Linked DNA regions of Homo sapiens: all the other regions are linked to region 6. The links are contacts of gene promoters, found by promoter capture Hi-C in blood cells and fetal thymus (Javierre and others, 2016). All regions are on one chromosome and are shown on one strand. Each heading gives the region's core, a stretch centred on a gene start or on the middle of the fragment in contact. The rest is flanking DNA. Distances are from core to core; before and after follow the strand shown. Region 1 overlaps PSME4 (proteasome activator subunit 4). Region 2 holds the start of PSME4 (proteasome activator subunit 4). Region 3 overlaps SPTBN1 (spectrin beta, non-erythrocytic 1). Region 4 has its middle 11 kb from the start of ACYP2. Region 5 has its middle 20 kb from the start of PSME4. Region 6 holds the start of PPP4R3B (protein phosphatase 4 regulatory subunit 3B). Region 7 overlaps PSME4 (proteasome activator subunit 4).

Region 1 (2,709 bases), core at 129-2,628, 1.7 Mb after region 6:
ATTATTCAGCCTGTCCTCTTGGCTATGTTTAGCAAAACCGGTAGTCTAGAAGCAGCCCAGGCTTTGCAGAATCTTGCACTCATGAGACCTGAATTGGTAATACCCCCTGTACTTGAAAGGTAAGTGGTTAGTGGGAGTCTCAGCCACAGCTAGGTTTTTCTTTTGGTCTGTTCAGCTCGATTCTCTTTTCTCCTCTGTGGCTTCTGTTTTGCTTCTTCGATGCTTATTCCTGTTCCTAGAGGAGAAGCAGGACATTTTAATGTAATGATTGGTAACTTGATAAAGGTTTATTGGAGAGAAAAAAATTGAAATGAAATGGGTAACATACATCTTTTGGATTCTTCACACATTTTAGTTACCAAAATTATATGCTTATGAATTAAGATCTGGCCTTCCTTTTTAGATCGAAATGTTGAGTGTCACTAAGGATTGAGAATATGGCAGTGAAAGTGGTTTTTGGATTTCTTTTATTTCTTAGAATCAGTGGTAGAGAAGAAAATTGTGTTTATTATTTTCATGTATTATATATTCAGGTGTGTTGTTTTTACAGTGTAAGTTTTATTTTATTCATTGTGTTTTGTGTGTTGAAATGGTAAGGAAAACTCTTTACTTGCCTAGCCACTGTCACAGAATAGGCGTGGTATACTTACAAAGAGAGAGACAGCTACTTTTCTTTTTTTTTTGAGATGAAATTTTGCTGTAGTCCCCCAGGCTGGAGTGCAAATCTTGGCTCACCGCAACCTCCGCCTTCCTGGTTCAAGGATTCCCCTGCCTCAGCCTCCTGAGTAGGTGGGATCACAGGCGCCCGCCACCACACCCAGCTAATTTTTGTATTTTTAGTAGAGACGGCGTTTCACCATGTTGGCCAGGCTGGTTTCGAACTCCTGACCTCAGGTGATCCACTCGCCTTGGCCTCCCAAAGTGCTGGGATTGCAGGTGTGAGCCACTGTGCCCGGCCTACTCTTAATTTGAGAGCAATTTTTAAAGTAACTTGTTCAAGAGCAAATTACTTAAGCTTTCTGTTGTACCTCTGATTCTTCCACTATCTGAAGCTTTATGATCTCTTTCTAAATGTTTTTGTCAAATATAGAGGAGGAATGTTAGTTTTTAGAACCCAGAAGGATCTAGCCATTGAGTTCCATAAAAATTTGTCCAAGGTCCCTAGTGGTAGAATTCAGACTATAGCCTATTTTCTGACTTATTGTTGAGACAGAATAAGTGTTGGTCATATTTACTTGGGGAAGGATACCGTGTTCAAGATCTTAACCAAAATGGGCCTCCATTATCTATAATTTTGAGCTGTTGATGCTGCCTTACCTGCCCTCATTGCCATAAATATTCAAGTTAGGCCGTACTTCATTTTCCCAACTTCTCCTATTTTTACATATACATCTTGGGGCATTGAAACTCTTCCAGCTTATAGAACTTAATTAGGAAATGGAGTGGGGGAAGATAGGCAGTTTCCTGTCCGTCTTCAACCCCCAGTATTCTTTGCTTCTTGGCCTCCACAGAGTAGCAGAAGCCAACAGTTAATGTTAGGTTCCCTGATGCTCCCTGGAGAGGAGGGACTTCATCTGTTTGCTTAGCTAACATTTTGAAGTTTGGAGTGTTTTTGATGTTTCTTTAGTTCCCCTTTGCTTTGTTATTTTCAGCTGATTAATTATGAATAGTGAGCTAAATTCTTAGTAGAAAGAACAAAGCTTATAAATAAATAGACCTATCACGTTTTTCTTTAGTCCTAAAATTTTGGACAAATGTAATATCAGCATATTAAGTGATATTGAATGCTTGGCCAAGATAAATATTTAATAGACCAAATTGACAATACAATGACATTTTTTGAGACTTTCAGTTGTAATTTGGTGCTGTTTTGAAGTGGCATCACCTTTTAAAATTTATTATTTATTTATTTATTTATTTATTATTTATTTATTTAGAGACAGACTCTTGCTCTGTTGCCCAGGCTGGAGTGCAGTGACATGATCTCAGCTCACTGCAACCTCCACCTCTCGGGTTCAAGCGATTCTCCTGTCTCAGCCTTCCGAGTAGCTGGGATTACAGGTGTCTGCCACCATGCCCAGCCAATTTTTGTATTTTTAGTAGAGATGGCGTTTCACCATGTTGGTCAGGCTGATCTTGAACTCCTGACCTCAAGCAGTCCGCCTGCCTTGGCCTCCCAAAGTGCTGGGATTACAGGTGTGAGCCACCATGGCTGGCCAAAGATTTTATTTTTAATAAAAGCAAAACTTTTTTAAAAACTAAAAATGTAGAAAAAAATCTTAGACACTTAGTTTTACATCTCCAAGAAAGCTTCTGTTAAAGAGTTTGGTATGTTTTCTCCATTAAAAAAAAAAAAAATAAGCAGCTAGGCTGGCTTATGCCTGTAGTCCCAGGACTTTGGAAGTCTGAGGAAGATGGATTGTTTGAGCTCAGGAATTTGAGACCAGCCTGGGCAACATGGCAAAACTCTGTCACTACAAAAAAAATACAAAAGTTAGCCGGGAGTGGTAACGTTTGCCAGTAGTCCCAGCTACTTGAGAAGCCAAGGCAGGAGGTTTACCTGATCTGGGCAATGTGGAGGCTGCAGTGAGCTGTGATCAGGCCACTGCACTCCAGCCTGGGGCAGAGTAAAACCCTGACTCCAGGGTTGGGGGTGGTCAGGGGAAAGAAAGAGTAGAGTATCTGTAACTTGTTATTCCACTGACTGAC
Region 2 (2,700 bases), core at 77-2,576, 1.6 Mb after region 6:
GAGTGCTGTGGCACGATCTCGGCTCACTGCAAGCTCCATCTCCCGGATTCACGCCATTCTCCTGCCTCAGCCTCCCGAGTAGCTGGGACTACAGGCGCCCGCCACCATGCCCGGCTAATTTTTTTGTATTTTTAGTAGAGACGGGGTTTCACCATGTTAGCCAGGATGGTCTCCATCTCCTGACCCCGTGATCCACCCGCCTCGGCCTCCCAAAGTGCTGGGATTACAGGCGTGAGCCACCACGCGCCTGGCCCTTTTATTTTTTGAGACGGAGTTTCGCTCTTGTTGCCCAGGCTGGAGTGCCCTGGCGCGATCTTGGCTCACTGCAACCTCCGCCTTCCGGTTTCAAGCGATTCTCCTGCCTCAGCCTCCCGAGTAGCTGGGATTACAGGCGTCCGCCACCACGCCCGGCTAACTTTTTTGTATTTTTAGTAGAGACGGGGTTTCACCATGTTGGCCAGACTGGTCTCGAACTCCTGACCTCGTGATCCGCCCGCCTCGGCCTCCCAAAGTGCTGGGATTACAGGCGTGAGCCACTGCGCCCGGCCGCCAGAGTAATTCTTAAAAAATGTAAATTATATCATCCCACTGCTATGCTTAAAATCTTTTGGAAGTTTGTCTCTAGGATAAAGCTCTGAATTCCTTAGGATTGCCTTCTCAGTCTCATTTCTCCGTCCCCTCTCTTACGCTATTTTGAACTTTGAATTTTTAGAATACATGCTTGCAGCGTCAAAGCTGTTCTCTCAGCTGAAATACGTGTCCTCCTCCCTCCTTTTTCTAACCAACTTTGCACTCAACCTTCATAGCTTAAATTAAGTATCACTTCTAGGAAAATGACACCCTCTCAAACCCCCTAGTTTCAACTTCTTTGTAGAGTTCCTAAGGATTCTTGTACTTATCTAGCAATTAAGAGCATTATCTTGTAATTCACGTCTTTATCTCTGCTAGACTAAGTCCTTGGGAGGGCGGAAACCAGGTTAAACTTTCTATCTCAATAGCCTAAACTGAGCGCCTTACACACAAAACAGCTGTTCAAATAGCATTTGTTCAGCGAGTAACTATTTTCTTCTTTGGAATGATGGCGGCCAGAATACCAGAAAGATGGGGACTTAAAGGGGACAGAAAAATTAAATCTATAAGGAACAAGCGGGATGGAGTAAATAAATCTATAAGGAGCAAGTGGGTACGTAGGCTTTTCCATAAACCCCTCTAACCCAGAAGCCGGGGCTGCTCGGCTAGGGGGACCAGGCCGACCTGGCTGCCGCCTGTCGTGGCGACTGGGACTCCAGTGGGCTGCCGCTTGGAGTGCGCGACCCCCGGCGAAGCAGGACAATAGCTTGGAATTCGGCCTCGTGTTTCCGGTGAGGCAGCCTCGCGCTGGGCCGGTGAGGCCTGGGGTGGGGGCTCCGAGCCGGGCCCACGGCGAAGAAGGCGCAGCCCGTTGGGCTCCAGCTGCCGCCACCACCGCCTCCCCCGACGCCGTCGCTCCGCCCCGCCCCGCCCCGGAAGTGACTTGAGGCCGGTCCGGAACCTCTGGGCCCGGCGGCTGCAGCGTCACCAGCAGAGCCGGTGCGGGGCGGGCAGAGCGGCCGCTGCCGCCGCCAACGAACTGAGAGCCGCGTGGGGCCCAGCAGCACGCCGGCCAGGGAAGGGGGCCTAGCGATCGGTCCGAGGGCGACGGGCCGCCAGCGGCCGCAGGGCGACGAAGACGCGGAGGAGGCGGAGCCCGGAGAGGGGTGGGGGCCGGGGAGGGTTCGGGTGGGAGGGGGTGGGGGGGGTGTCCCTGGGCTCATGGAGCCGGCCGAGCGGGCGGGAGTCGGAGAGCCCCCGGAGCCGGGCGGGCGTCCCGAGCCGGGCCCGCGGGGCTTCGTCCCGCAGAAGGAGATCGTCTACAACAAGCTGCTGCCCTACGCGGAGCGGCTAGACGCCGAGTCCGACTTGCAGCTGGCCCAGATCAAATGCAACCTGGGCCGGGCCGTGCAGCTCCAAGAGCTGTGGCCCGGGGGCCTCTTCTGGACCAGGAAACTCTCCACGTAAGTGTGCCCGGGCCTGCGGGCCGGGCCGGGGGGAAAGGCTCAGTGAGAGGTGTCGGGGATGGTTGCTCTTTGTCCAGAGGGCTGGACCCTTAGCTCTGTCCTCGCTGGAGCTGTCCCCGAGCGGTGATCCCAGGGTCGTGACAGAGCCTGTGAAGTACTCAAGCCGTCCTCCCTGCCACTTTCCTACGGGACTTCCCGGGTCTTTACCATCCCTCTACGTCCTCCGCATCTGCTTCTCCCGAAGTGTTCGGGTTGTTGTCTTCCCACCTGGGGGGCCCTGGGTAGCCCAAGGGCCCCGGCCCCGAGGGAGAGAGGTGAGCCTTTCTCAAGGGTCCTCCGTGGACTTTTGCGCATGGGAGAGGCGGGGCAAAGAGAATTTGTCTTTGGGGGAGTTCCTTGACTTGTCTCCTTGCTTCCTCCGGTTCTTCCTTCCCCTACGATCCCCGCCTCTTCGCATCTCCGTTGGCGTCTAGTAACTTTCTGAATGGAGAGAAGACCATAGGGAAACTTAAGGGTTTTGCTTTTTGGGGGCCCTCTCAGACCTGGCGGAGTTGATCGAAAAGGGTCGTTTAAAGTCAGACCTCATTCTTGAGCTTAACGTCTTATGTGGACAGTGTTGTTTTGGATTGTGTGTTGCTCCTGTTGTGACATTTCTTTTGGAGAG
Region 3 (2,700 bases), core at 104-2,603, 1.1 Mb after region 6:
CTAACAGGTGTCAGAAGTTCCTTTTAAAAATTCCTCTATCTAAGCCAACCCATCTCATTTATAGTAAGAAAAATGAGAAATGAGGCACAGAGCCGTGTGCCCAGAGTTACAAAGCAAGCTACCGGCATGCTGGAGATTAGAAAGCAGGCCTTCTGAATTCCTGCTGCCATTTCTAGAGCAAACCTGAAGGAAGAGGAAGCTAAGCACAAAGGAAGTAGCGTGCATTTCTCATGCCAGTCAATGAAGTGGGCCCAGGGCTTGGAATCAGGGAAAACTCACCTTAATGTCCTTTCCCCACTGCCTTCCAGCATCCACCACAAAGGTGGAGCCAAAAGGCCTGTCCTGAGTGCTAGATGAGTGATATCTGTTTATGTTCTCTGATGTCCAACTTGCACCAGCTCAGAGAGAATGACAGCCCAGGATGCGGTACAAGCACAGCTTCCATGTCATCTTTCCAGCCCAGTGTAGAACCATACACAAAGTTGGCCTCAGCAAACTTTGTTGTTTAAAAATCCTTTTTCTCAGTTTTATACATTGATCTTTCCTTTATTATTCTTATGGTGTCCTGAGGAATAGCCTACTCAGGAGGCACTTAAAAAAATACCTGACAAATGGATTTATTCATCACAACCAGAATTATTTTATTTATTCTGAGATGGAGCCTCGCTCTGTTGCCCTGGCTGGAGTGCAGTGGCATGATCTTGGCTCACTGCAAGCTCCACCTCCTGGGTTCATGCCATTCTCCTGCCTCAGCCTCCCAAGTAGCTGGAACTATAGGCACCCGCCACCACGCCTGGCTAATTTTTTGTATTTTTAGTAGAGACGGGGTTTCACCGTGTTAGCCAGGATGGTCTCGATCTCCTGACCTCGTGATCTGCCCGCCTTGGCCTCCCAAATGCTGGGATTACAGGTGTGAGCCACCACGCCTGGCCACAACTAGAATTTTAATGACAGGTGAAGAATGAAGAGAAAGAAGAGAAAGACTAAGCTCTTTTCTAATACCTGCCAAGCTCACCTATAACTACCTCTCCACTCACCTCTTTTCATTACTATTTTTATCACCGATACCTTAATCACCATTACCCTTTTAATTACCATCTACCAAGAAAAACACAATTTGAGACCACGTTGGTGCCTTTTTTCCATTATATCGTATTTTGAATAACATTCTAAAAGCTTCAGTAAAGGATATGGAGAAATTGGAACCCTTGTACGCTGTTGGTAGGAATGTAAATGGTGCAGCTGCTGTGGGAAATAGTATGGAGGTTCTGCAAAAAATTAAAAATATAACTACCATATGGTCCAGCCATTCCCCTTCTGGATATATATCCAAAAGAACTGAAAGCAGGATCTCAAAGAGACACTTGCATTCCTATGTTCATTGCAGTATCATTCGCAATAGCAAGAGGTGAAAACTCTAATGTCCATCAATGGATGAATGGATAAACAAAATGTGGCATATACATATAATTGAATATTACTTAAAAAGAAGAAAATTCTGTCATATGCTATAACATGGATGAAGCTTGAGGACATCATGTTAAATGAAATAAGCCAGTTAGAAAAAAAACAAATATTACATGATTCCACTTACATGCAGTATGTTGAGTAGTTAAACTCATGGAAAGAGAAAGTAGAATGGTGGTTGCCAGGAGCTGGGGGAAGGGGAACGTGGTGAGTTATTGTTTAATGGGTGTAGAGTTTCAGTTTTTCAAAATGAAAAGGGTCTAGAGATCTGACTGCACAACAATATGAACATAGTTAACTCTACTGAAGTTACATTTAAAAATGGTTAACATGGTAAACCTTATGTTATGTGGTTTTTTTTTTTTTTTTACCACCATTAAAAATGAATTTTAAAAACATACTTCAGTAAAGACAAGGAATGCACCACTGGGCAGGGGAAGAAACAGCAGATCTATAAAGCCACATGTTCCCCACCTATGATGCTGAAGCTCAAATCAAACATTCTCAAATGCTGTCAACCAACACATTGATCTCTCCAAGTCCTATCTTCCACCCTTAGGAAAAAAGATATTTACTCGGAATCCTGCCAACTCTCATTTTTACAACAAAAGGCCTCATAAATTACGTACTGCCTTCCAGCCTCACATTTGTGTGCAGTGCGATAGAGTTTATCAGAGTTTATCCATTTCCCACAGAGTTGTCATTAGAGTCAGAACTCATGATCTCGACAACCCAACCTTCATGAAATTGTTCAAAAACTTTATTTTTCAGTCAGCATCTTTGAGATTGAGTCCTCAAAACACAGGGGAAATAAATTGGTAGTTTAGAAATAGTAGCAATGCATCATACTCAAGCAGGCAGGTACACATTTACACAACTTAGGAGTGTGTGTATGCACATATACAGGAGAATGCCTACATGTATACAGATCACTTTAACAGATATCAGACAAGTTTTTCTTACTCTGAAGTTTTTGTGATACCCCCATCATCAACTATCCTGAAACACTTAGACTTTGCCCAGCCAGCTAAAGAACACTGATATTCTGTCAATGTGGGTACATACATAGTTTGCTGTTACGAATAATTTTGCCATAATAAGGGCTTATGAAGCAACAGACCAAGGTTCTTACTGATCAAAAAATTGTCCTTGTAGTTGGCCTATTAGAGATCACGGAAGGGCAAATGGCAAAAATCATTACACAGGAAAGAGGTCTGTAATTTGTAGTGATTA
Region 4 (2,709 bases), core at 79-2,578, 1.5 Mb after region 6:
TCTTTCCACTCTGCCACACTGCCTTCAACAGTCTTTCATTCACTCATTCAACAGATGTTTACTGAATACCCAGTATGTGCCATGTGTAGGTGCTGGGGAGAAGGTGATGTTTTATTTATTAATAGGGTCCAGGCGCAATGGCTCATGCCTGTAATCTCAGCAATTTGGGGGCCTGAGGCAGGAGGATCGCTTGAGCCCAGGAGTTAGAGACCAGCCCGGGCAACATGGCAAAACCCTTCTCCACAAAAAATACAAAAATTAGCCAGACATGGTGGTTTGGCTGTAGTTCCAGCTACTCGGGAGGCTGCACCTGTAGTCCCAGCTACTTGGGAGGCTGAGGTGGGAGAATCACTTGAGCTAGGGAGGTAAGCCATGATCATGCCACTGTACTCTAGCCTGGGCAATAAAACGAGACCCTGCCTCAAAAATAAATAAATAAATAAATTTAAAAAATTTAGAGATGGGGGTAGATTAGGGCTTAGAGAGGTTGTCTGGGAAGGTCTCTGGGGAAGTGATCGCTGAAGAATGGATAAGAAGAAACCAAGAAGAAAGGTGGGAGAACTTAATCCACGCAGAGGGAATAGCATGTAGAAAGCTCGAGTTTCCCAAGTAGGAGAAACTGAAAGAAGCCCAGTGTGGCTGCTGCATTATAAAATATGAGATGGTGGCATTAAATACAGCTTTCAGTCAAGGCAAGGAGAAAGGTCATGCCAGGCTGTGGAAGCCACGGTGGAGTCTGGTTCCTGTTCCAAGTACAGTGGGAAGCCGGGGAAGAGTGCTCAGGCTCTATGTTGCATGCTGCAAATCAGAAGTTTTCCTGGGGGGAAATTTCCTGAATTGTTTTCAACAAAATAGTATTCAAAAAACATCTGAATATTTCCCCAAAAATATCTTCCAGAGACCACTAGATAGTTTGCTAACAATTGTGTAGGCTTCGAAGGGAATACCTGAATTATACCCCATGCCTCAGCTTGTAACACAGTGTTACACTGTGGACACAGTTATCCTCTAAGACCTGACTAGACCCCACTTTTTGTGCAATCCCCTATCAGCCTTTTTTGTCTAGTTGCACATTATGTTCACTTGGGGAACTTGGGGAGTGTTCTTCCCATCTCCAGAAATTTTAATGTAATTAATATGGTGCTGGGCCAGCCATCAGCAGTTGTTAAAAAGCTTCTCAGGTAGTTCTACTGTTTAGCCAGGGTTGAGGATTGCTGATCTGAGGGATTGTGATAAATGACTTTTATGTAATACTTTCTCATTGTCAAAGTGATTTTTGTCAAGTGTAGAATACTCAGACTAACATAAGACTAAAACAGTAGCCTGTAAGGTGACTGTTTATTTGGTGTATCACTCAGGCTCCAGAGTTCTGTATCTAGCAGTTTGGTAAAATCTAACTACATCAAAAATGTCTACTTAACAAAACCTGGAAAAGTTCTTTACAAAGGTGACAAAAGGACTTGAGCTACATGACTAAGCTTGCCCTTTTATGGTTATCCATTTTACTACACACCAATTTTAAAATAAATATATAATACACTATAATACCAAAGGTACATAGTGGGAGGCTCTGATAATTTCCACTTCTTCCTCATGAAGGAATTTATGAACACTTAGTCATTATAATCAAAGAATACTTTCTTTTCTCATCCTATCTTGATTCTGTTCTCCAAGACTACTGATCATCATCCATGCATCAATGTACTCTTGTCCCACACCAGGCAGCATCAGTATATATCTCCCATCAGAATCCTAATTCTACATGCCAGATGTTCTTAATCTGTACATTTGGAACAGCTCGAAGTTCATTTTAAGTACCAAGTCTCTACCGCCAATAGAGGCAGTACCCACAGTTACACTCAGGAAAATACTGGCTGCCTGCTTTCTTGTTCAACCTGGGGCTGGCTTTGGTCTGTTTAGCTTAGCCTTGCAGCACTCTCTCTAACCTGCAGGATCTGACTGGCATCTGTATTCAGTGTAGCTGCAGGCATTTCCTCTGCCTGCTGCATGACCTGGCCGGCTAGGGCAAAGGGTGGGGAAGGGGAGGGGCTTATTCTGCTCTATTTGGCTACAGAGCAACATCAAGCTGCATATGAATCACTCATAGTACTCCCTGTGGGATACCATTAAAGATCCTCTGATATTTAATGCTCAGAACACTATTCTCTAATATTTCCTATTCACTTTCTTGAGCTCTATATTTTCAAATAAATAAATCATATTTCATAGTCATAAACATGTTAGAAGAATAGGAAGAAAATCAATGGCCCATTTTACAGATGAGAAAACTGGGCCACAGAAGTTAAATCAGAGTAATAACTAAGCCATACAACTATTTAGTGTTTAGAATGAGGATGAGTAAAAGCATAATACCCATTGCATGGATCTATGTGTAATTTAAAACAGTAATCTTGAATAAAAATGTAAATAACAAAGTTAGGAAGCAAATGACAAACTGGAAAAAAAACATTTCCAGCATGCAAAACTGAAAGGAATTAAGACCAAGGTTAAGATGTTAGGAACACCTTAAAAGCACTGTCCTAACAGCAAAATGGACAGATAACTCATAAAAACCCAAATGCAAATGATCAACAGATATCTGAAATAATGTTTATGAATGAATGTGAAATAAAACAATGATGTGGTGGACATGTGTTGCTTTTATCTATGCATTATTCCTTCTCCCCAACTTTTGATAGAAAACTTCTT
Region 5 (2,700 bases), core at 21-2,520, 1.6 Mb after region 6:
CATCTCTCATTGAATTGCTGAAAACGCCTCCTAATTAGTCACAGTACTTTCATTCTTATCCCCTTATAATCTATAGTCCATTCAGAGTCAGGAGAGATCTTTTGAAAGTTTAAATCAATTTATATCATTTTCCTGATTAAAAACTTGTCTATAGGTTTCCATTGCACTTAGAGTAAATTTAAGTGCTTGGTTCACTCACTAGGTTAAAATTAAAAGTAAGTGCTTACTATGACACTGGTGAAAAGAAGGAAGGAAGGAAGGAGAAAGAAGAAAGGAAGGAAGGAAGGAGAAAGAAGGAAGGAAGAAAAAAAGTAGGAAGGAAGGAAAGAAAGAAAGGAAGGAAGAAAGAAGGAAGAAAGGGAGAGAGGGAGGGAGGGAAGGAGGAAGGAAGGAAGGAAGGAAGGGGAAAAAAGGAAGGAAAGAGGGAGGGAAGGAGGGAGGAAGGAAGGAGGGAAAGAGGGGCAAGAGCTCTTACATTGTGAAAAAGCTTGGCTTGATCAAGAAATTGAAAGAAGCTGGGTGTGGTGTCATGTGCCTGTAGTCTTAGCTACTTGGGAGGCTTGGCAGGAGGATTGCTTTAGGCCAAGAGCTCGAGTCTGCAGTACCCTATGAGCGCACTTGTGAATAGCCACTACACTCCATCTTGTACAACATACTTAGCCCTCATCGCTAAATAAAAATAAATAAATATAAAAAACTTAAAAAAAATTGAGAGAAGGTCGGAGTGCCTGGAGCAGGGTGAATGAGGTAAAATCAATATATGAGATGAAATACGGCCAGGCACAGTGGCTCACACCTGTAACCCCAACACTTTGGGAGACTGAGGCAGGTGGATCACCTGAGGTCGGGAGTTCGACACCAACCTGACCAACATGGAGAAACCCTGTCTCTACTAAAAATACAAAATTATCCAGGTGTGGTGGCGCATGCCTGTAATCCCAGCTACTCAGGAGGCTGAAGCAGGAGAATCACTTGAACCTAGGAGGCAGAGGTTGCAGTGAGCCAAGATCGCACCACTGCACTCCAACCTGGGCGAAAGAGTGAAATTCCATCTCAAAAAAAAAAAAAGAAAAAAAAGTTACACATACACCAGCCATTCTATGCCTAGGTATGTATCCAAGAGAAAAGTAGTTATATGTCCATACAATGACTTATACATGAATATTTATTGAAGCTTTATTTGTAATACCCAGAAACTGGGAACAACCAAAACGTCCATTAACAGATGAATGGATAAGCAAACTATGGTATGTTCATAGAATGCTACTCAGCAACATTTGAGAGAAAATTATAAAATCACAACATCTGATGATGACCAGCAGCATACCTTTGAACACTTGACCAGCAGCATCACCTGGAAGCTTGTTAGAAACACAAATTCTCGACAGGGCACGGTGGCTCACGCCTGTAATCCCAGCACTTTGGGAGTCCCAGGCGGGCGGATCACAAGGTCAGGAGATCTAGACTATCCTGGCTAACACAGTGAAACCCCGTCTCTACTGAAAATATAAAAAATTAGCCGGGCGTGGTGGCGGGCACCTGTAATCACAGCTACTCGGGAGGCTGAGGCAGGAGAATGGCGTGAACCCAGGAAGCGGAGCTGGCAGTGAGCCGAGATCGCGCCACCGCACTCCAGCCTGGGCGACAGAGCGAGACTCTGCCTTAAAAAACAAAAAACAAAACAAAAAAAAAACGCAAATTCTTAGGTCATCTGCAGACCTACTGAATCAGAAACTCTGACAGTAGAAGCTCTCTCAACCACTGCTTTATGCTAATTTGCTGAAAGTGAGGATTCTTTTTCTTTTTTTTTCTTTTTTTTTTTTTTTGGTAAGACGGAGTTTTGCTCTTGTCTCCCAGGCTGGAGTGCAATGGTGCCATCTCGGCTCGCTGCAAACTGCACCTCCCGGGTTCAACAGATTCTCCTGCCTCAGCCTCCCAAGTAGCTGGGATTACAGGTGGCCGCCACCACGCCCAGCTAATTTTTGTATATTTAGTATATTTGGGGTTTCACCATGTTGGCCAGGCTGGTCTCAAATTCCTGACCTCAGGTGATCCACCTGCCTCAGCCTCCCAAGGTGGTGGGATTACAGGCATGAGCCACAGCTCCCAGCTAGGATTCTTGATATATCAACTATCTTGCTTGTTAGAAGTGAACTCTGGCTAAATTAAATAGAAGATGAATTTACTGAAAAGTGTTATATGCCAGGAGTGGTGGCTCATGCCTGTAATCACAACACTTTGAGAGGCCGAGGCGGGTAAGTCACTTGAGGTCAGGAGTTCAAAACCAGCCTGACCAACATGGTGAAACCTTGCCTCTACTAAAAATACAAAAATTAGCCAGGTGTAGTGGTGCATGCCTGTAGACCCAGCTACTCCGGAGGCTGAGGCAGGAGAATTGCTTGAACCCAGGAGGTAGAGGTTGCAGTGAGCCGAGATCACACCATTGCACTCAGCCTGGGCAACAGAGCAAGACTCCATCTCAAAAAAAAAAAAAAAAGAAAAGAAAAGAAAAGGGTTTATGTAACTCACAGAAGTGATGAGAAATGATGAAAACATTCTCAAACAATTGGCTGGGACCAAGGGAGTAGGAGTGGCAGGAACAGTCTGGTGGAGATGCTGCTGCCACCACCAACATAGGACATCTCTAGTATTTGACATAATGGCCACTGTAGGCAGCCACTACTCACAATAAACACAGCC
Region 6 (2,700 bases), core at 83-2,582:
TTAACAAGACCATTGATTAGTTATGACTACAACTCCCAAGATGCACTGCAGGGTCAGTGTGCGCGTCTCGCCTAGTTTTCACCGATCAGGCTAATGAGCTGCACAGAAGTGGCAGCTGAACAAGCTGAGAGACTGTATTAAAGAACGAATATAGCGGGGATGGGGAGCAGGCGTCTACGGTCCCAGCTACTCGGGAGGCTGAGGTGAGAGGATCGCTTGAGCCCTCAAGGCGGAGGCTACAGTGAGTCGAGATAGCGCCATTGCACTCTAGCCTGGGAAGCAGAGAGAGACTATCAAAAACAACAAAACGAATAAAGGGATTCTACCAAGAGTGAGCTGGACTGAAATAAACGACACGCTACTACGACCCAGCGCGTGACTATATCCACCGCACAATGTGCGATAATAGCCTCAATGCAGAGAGAATTCCTCCTTTCCTTATTCAGTGCAAGAGAGCCCTATAGAGAACGCAGGAAATGCCCGCGAGAAACTGAGAAGTATCAAAACAATCACAGATATGTTAGGAAAGTAGCTCCCCGCCACTTCCCTAAACTTATCATAGCAGACTTACTTTCCAAGGTTACAAACACAAGAAGAGCACTGTATTTTCATGAAGCGGAAAATGTGCTTTACAATCGCCAGCTACTAAGAGCCTTAACGGTGAAGCGCTCTGCAAGAAACAGGAAATCGTCAACACACTTTCTGCATGAATTGCCTGGAGAGTTGTGTCCATAGACAATTCCTGGTTAGATGCTTAATTGTAGCAGACTCCATAACGGGGTTTAGCGGGTTTCCATTCGGCAGAAAGGGCTCCACGTTCTTTTTCACAGAAAGGTTTAAACTTATTTTTCCTCCTCAGGCGGACGAAGTGAGCGTCGTTCCGTGAAGGTATGAAACCCTTTTCCTTCCTTTCTGTCCCTGGTTACTCCGGTTCAAGGCTACGTACTTCCCCGGTTTGCTTTGTTTTTTCCTCAGAGCTAAGTTCCTAGGAACGTCACATACTGGTGCCATCCAACAACATGACGACGTGCGGAACCGAAGTCCCCTTCCACCTAGCGGCCTCTCGCGGCGCAGGCGTGGACGGGGAGATCGCGAGAACCTCCCGCCCAATTGCGACCCCGCGCCAAGAGGCGGGGCCGAAAGAGGAGGAAGTCGGGCCGAAAGAGGAGGAAGTCTCGCCGAAGTACTCCCGCCCCAGTCGGTACCCCTCCTCGCGAGAGCGCCGAGCATTCCGGCCTGGGAAGCGCGTGCAGAAGCGGAGGTGCTGCTCATGGGACTTGTCGGCCGCCGTAGCCCCTGCTAGGACAGCCCGTGCGAGCCTGCTGGAGGAGGAAGAGAAAGGCAGAGAGAGTCGGGTTACAAGATGGCGGATCTGTAGTAGTTACCGCGGCGGCGGGAGAGCAAGCGAGCCCTGGGGGGCAAAGAGACGGGAGAGTGGGTGTATGCGCGGGTGAAGTGAGAGGTAACGGGGCCTCCGGGCGGAGAGGCCTCAGTGGCTCTTGTCACCCCTTCTCGCGGCTGAACCTTTGGAGCCATGGTGAATTCGGGCCTCTCCGAAGCCGCCGCCGCCGCCACCGCCACTACTGCCTTTACCGTCTCCTAAGAGTGAGGAGCGCGGACGAGGTAAGCGAGGAGGCGGCGGCTAGAGCGGTGGAGACAGCAGCCACCATGTCGGATACGCGGCGGCGAGTGAAGGTCTATACCCTGAACGAAGACCGGCAATGGGACGACCGAGGCACCGGGCACGTCTCCTCCACTTACGTGGAGGAGCTCAAGGGGATGTCGCTGCTGGTTCGGGCAGAGTCCGACGGTAAGGTTATCGGAACTGTAGAATAGGGGATAGTGCCTCTGGTTGGGGCACAGCTTGGGTTTAGGGCCCTGGGCCCGTTACCGTTGCTACTCCTTCGGGACAGCGCGTTGGTTCTGAACTGGCTCTTGTGTACGGCAAAAACAAAGTACTGTACTTTTGACTGGACTTATCCTCGGAGACCGAGACTCTCTGTCCTTCTCCCATCTCTCTTAAGGATTGGACTCCTTCCTTTCCAGTCCCTCCTCTTTTGAAGAGGGGAGAGTGTGAGAGAGAAGGGAGGAAGTAGTGAGAGACTAGGTACTGATGTCGCCCTAGGAGCTGACACCTTCCTCCCCCTTTATTTACTTATCCATTATACGTCTAGTACAAACGGTTTAGGGAAACTTTTCTTTCCGAGTGTTTTTAAAAAAAAAAAATTGTACCAACGGGCCCCAGGTGCCACAGTCGACAGGTGCTGGGGAAAACCGAAAGGCACGTTTTCCTGGCTGTATTGCTGACTGTTGCCACGATACATGGACACACAAGCACATACATCTGTAGTCTGCATTTCTTCGGGCTGCCTTTGTAGAAGGCGCTATGAGAAAGTGAATGCCTTACAATCTAAGCAAGTTGGGACACCAAAGCAGGTTGTAAACTGCTGTGTTCTTTGGTTTATTGTAGTCATGTGAAGTATTTTAAATTACAAAATGTAGAGCCGTAATTAAAATGCCTTTTATAGTATAATCTGGACTTGATTTGAACAACTGATATAGGCAGTTAGAAAAATAATCTTAGGTTTAGTCTTGACATATTTTGTATTCTTGCTTGTTCCCTTTTATTTTAAATAGTCATCACTTCTACAGAAGGTGTTCTTTTGTTCTTAATGAGGAAAGGATAAATGCAGCACTGTA
Region 7 (2,700 bases), core at 23-2,522, 1.7 Mb after region 6:
GAGGTGGAGGTTTTGCCATGTTGGCCAGGCTGATCTTGAACTCCTGACCTCAAGTGATCTGCCTGCCTCGGCCTCCCAAAGTGCTGGGACTACAAGTGTGACTCACTACACCTGACCTGAATTATTTACTCAAGATAGTATTGCTAGATGAAGGATTTTTATTAATTTGTTATTATTACATTTTTAAATATGTATAATAGAGATGAGGGTCTCACTCTGTTGCCCAGGCTGGTCTTGAACTCCTGGATTCAAGTGATTCTCCTGCTTCTGCCTTCCAAAATGCTGGGATTTCAGGCATGAGCCATGGCGCCTAGCCCACTGTCTTTCTTTCTTTCCTTTTTTTTTTGAAATGGAGTCTCCCTCTGTTGCCCAGGCTGGAGTGCAGCAGCGAGATCTTGGCTCACTGCAACCTCTGCCTCCCGGGTTCAAGCGATTCTCCTGCCTCAGACTCCCGAGTAGCTGGGTTTGCAGGCGCGTGCCGCCACACCCGGCTAATTTTTGTATTTTTAGTAGAGATGGGGTTTCACTGTGTTGGTCAGGCTGATCTCGAACTCCTGACCTCGTGATCTGCCTGCCTCGGCCTCCCCAAGTGCTGGGATTACAGGCGTGAGCCACCGCGCCCGGCCAGCCCACTGTCTTTCTTATGATTAAAAATTAAATCATTTGATTAATACACTGTAGGGCTGTGAGGAGGAAGCGGCTGGAAATGCTATTGTATTATCTTTTACTCTTTTTTGTTCTTCCCCTGTGGGAGGATGGAACAAAATGACTTGTTATCCATATATTCTGGATGGTTGAAAGAAATATTCTATATCAATCACGTTCAATCGTGACTGTTTACCAGGGTTTTCAGTTATTTTGGGACACCTAATAGTAATCATTAGTCCTAAAACCTAATGTGAAAATTAACTGGAAAGAGGGAATGCACCATCTGTAGATACAGTCTAAAGTAGGGTTTTTGAACTTAAGCTTACAGGAAAGTCAAACCAGAGTAGTCTAAAAAATGAAGATTGGTAGTCTGCACTCTAGCACTCCAGGAATTTATTTTTCATTCACCTTAAAAAAAAAAAAAGACAAACAGCTTTACTGAGATTTAATATTCCTAGGATTTTTGGATCCCAAGAATAATGCATTTTAAAAGTTACCCTGCATAGTTCTTCTTTTTCTTTTTTTTTTTTTTTTTTTTAATAGACATGGGGTTTCACCATGTTGCTCAGGTTGGTCTTGAACTCCTGATCTCAATTGATCCTCCTGCCTTCGCCTCCCAAAGTGCTGGGATTACAGGTATACTACGCCCAGCCTTTTTGCCCATTTTTAATTGGATTATGTCTTTTTCTTACTAGTAATTTGGATATGAGTTCTTTGTCAAATATATGTATTTCTGGGCTTTTTACTTTTAATGGTGTCTTATAGTGACTAGAAGTTATTTATGATAAAGACCAATTTATTAATTTTCTTTTTATAGTTAGAACTTTTGTGCCCTTTTAAAACAAATCTCTTGCACCATATTTTGATAAATGCTGAGATAAGAACCACTTGCTGGTTGGCGAGGAACTGGGGGAAATAGAAGCTTTCTGAGGAGTCCCTCCAGAATCTTTAGATTTGTCAGCAGCCCTAGGCTTTCCAGGAATCCCCCTGTTGGTCTCTTTTTATAGTATTAAAATTTGAGCTTTGTTAATTTTATGTCCCTAACTAATGTTAAATATACAGTTGTCTGTCTACTGCAATGAAAACAATGGGCTGTAGCTAAGTTACTTCAGTGGCTTGGAGCAGGGGGTCCCCCAACCCCCAGCTCAGGGACTGGTATGGGTCTGTGGCCTGTTAGGAACCGGGCTGCACAGCAGGAGGTGAGCAGTGGACAGGCGATTGGGCATTACCGCCTGAGGTCCACCTCCTGTCAGATTAGCCATGATGTTAGATTCTCATAGGAGCTCATATCCTATTGTGAACTGCCCGTGCAAGGGATCTAGGTTGTGTACTCCTTATGAGATTCTCCCTGGTACCAAAAAGGTTGGGGACTGCTGGCTTAGAGTACAGTGTTTCTCTAGTTTTTCTGCAGAAGTATCCTAACCACAGGGGAGAATGAATGCATGACTCCAGGGGCATCTGGAATCTTTCTGTTTGTTTGTTTGAGACTGAGTCTCTCTCTGTTGCCCAGGCTGGAGAACTCTAGCACCATCTCGGCTCAGCTGCAACCTCCGCCTCCCAGGTTCAAACAATTCTCCTGCCTCAGCCTCCCGAGTAGCTGGGATTAGAGGCGCGCACCACCATGCCCAGCTAATTTTTGTATTTTTAGTAGAGACAGGGGTTTCATCATGTTGGCCAGGATGGTCTCCATCTCTTGACCTCGTGATCCGTCTGCCTCGGCCTCCCAAAGTGCTGGGATTACAGGTGTGTAGTAGAGACAAAGTTTCACCATATTGGCCAGGCTGGTGGTCTCGAACTCCTAATCTCACGTGATCTGCCCACCTCGGCCTCCCAAAGTGCTGGGATTACAGGCATGAGCCACCACGCCTGGCTGGTATCTGGAATATTGACAAGGCCTGAAGCAGCCACTGAAAGCAGGGAATTTTTCTTTGATGTCTTCTGTCTTTATCTTAAAAATGTGTTCCAGTTTTTAGGGAGATGTTTGTGTTCATTTAAAATAACATTTTAATGATTCTAGCTTTTGCTCCTAAATTTAGAGTGAAATTGAGGGAG

What was found. The method cuts DNA at HindIII sites, captures the fragments that hold promoters and counts their contacts. A CHiCAGO score of 5 or more calls a contact.
Region 1: a contact is called between a fragment that was not itself captured here and the fragment with the promoter of PPP4R3B in region 6, in 4 of 17 cell types (M2 macrophages, fetal thymus, total B cells and 1 more). The highest score is 8.7, in M2 macrophages.
Region 2: a contact is called between a fragment that was not itself captured here and the fragment with the promoter of PPP4R3B in region 6, in 1 of 17 cell types (fetal thymus). The highest score is 6.2, in fetal thymus.
Region 3: a fragment that was not itself captured here is called in contact with the fragment with the promoter of PPP4R3B in region 6 in 1 of 17 cell types (total B cells); the score reaches 5.2 in total B cells.
Region 4: a contact is called between a fragment that was not itself captured here and the fragment with the promoter of PPP4R3B in region 6, in 1 of 17 cell types (total B cells). The highest score is 5.4, in total B cells.
Region 5: a contact is called between a fragment that was not itself captured here and the fragment with the promoter of PPP4R3B in region 6, in 3 of 17 cell types (total CD4 T cells, total CD8 T cells and total B cells). The highest score is 6.1, in total CD4 T cells.
Region 7: a fragment that was not itself captured here is called in contact with the fragment with the promoter of PPP4R3B in region 6 in 1 of 17 cell types (activated CD4 T cells); the score reaches 6.1 in activated CD4 T cells.

Annotation. Positions count from the first base shown.
Region 1 is chr2:53,929,245-53,931,953 of GRCh38, reverse strand. It overlaps PSME4 (proteasome activator subunit 4), which reads left to right. Exons shown (of 47, transcript NM_014614.3): 10 at 1-119. Among named protein-coding and RNA genes, the nearest start is that of PSME4, 40 kb to the left of the region's middle. The HindIII fragment of the contact is 648 bases long and covers 1,055-1,702 here.
Region 2 is chr2:53,969,876-53,972,575 of GRCh38, reverse strand. It overlaps PSME4 (proteasome activator subunit 4), which reads left to right and starts at 1,583. Exons shown (of 47, transcript NM_014614.3): 1 at 1,583-2,033. The coding sequence starts at 1,792. It also overlaps a transcript of ACYP2 not described here. RefSeq lists enhancers at 1,065-1,114, 1,410-1,704, 1,971-2,700 and silencers at 1,315-1,704, 1,579-1,740, 1,715-1,914. The HindIII fragment of the contact is 6,659 bases long and covers 1-2,700 here.
Region 3 is chr2:54,546,095-54,548,794 of GRCh38, reverse strand. The region is part of intron 2 of SPTBN1 (spectrin beta, non-erythrocytic 1); the gene reads right to left. All of the region lies in intron 1 of SPTBN1-AS1 (SPTBN1 antisense RNA 1), which reads left to right. Among named protein-coding and RNA genes, the nearest start is that of SPTBN1-AS1, 11 kb to the left of the region's middle. The HindIII fragment of the contact is 349 bases long and covers 1,179-1,527 here.
Region 4 is chr2:54,103,211-54,105,919 of GRCh38, reverse strand. It overlaps a transcript of ACYP2 not described here. Among named protein-coding and RNA genes, the nearest start is that of ACYP2, 11 kb to the left of the region's middle. The HindIII fragment of the contact is 305 bases long and covers 1,176-1,480 here.
Region 5 is chr2:53,989,779-53,992,478 of GRCh38, reverse strand. It overlaps a transcript of ACYP2 not described here. Among named protein-coding and RNA genes, the nearest start is that of PSME4, 20 kb to the right of the region's middle. The HindIII fragment of the contact is 187 bases long and covers 1,177-1,363 here.
Region 6 is chr2:55,616,254-55,618,953 of GRCh38, reverse strand. PPP4R3B (protein phosphatase 4 regulatory subunit 3B) reads left to right here and starts at 1,332. Exons shown (of 17, transcript NM_001122964.3): 1 at 1,332-1,810. The coding sequence starts at 1,669. PPP4R3B-DT (PPP4R3B divergent transcript) reads right to left here and starts at 1,024. Exons shown (of 3, transcript NR_186624.1): 1 at 572-1,024. RefSeq lists enhancers at 962-1,011, 1,032-1,431, 525-1,449, 1,450-2,376. The HindIII fragment of the contact is 10,945 bases long and covers 1-2,700 here.
Region 7 is chr2:53,951,974-53,954,673 of GRCh38, reverse strand. The region is part of intron 1 of PSME4 (proteasome activator subunit 4); the gene reads left to right. Among named protein-coding and RNA genes, the nearest start is that of PSME4, 18 kb to the left of the region's middle. The HindIII fragment of the contact is 601 bases long and covers 972-1,572 here.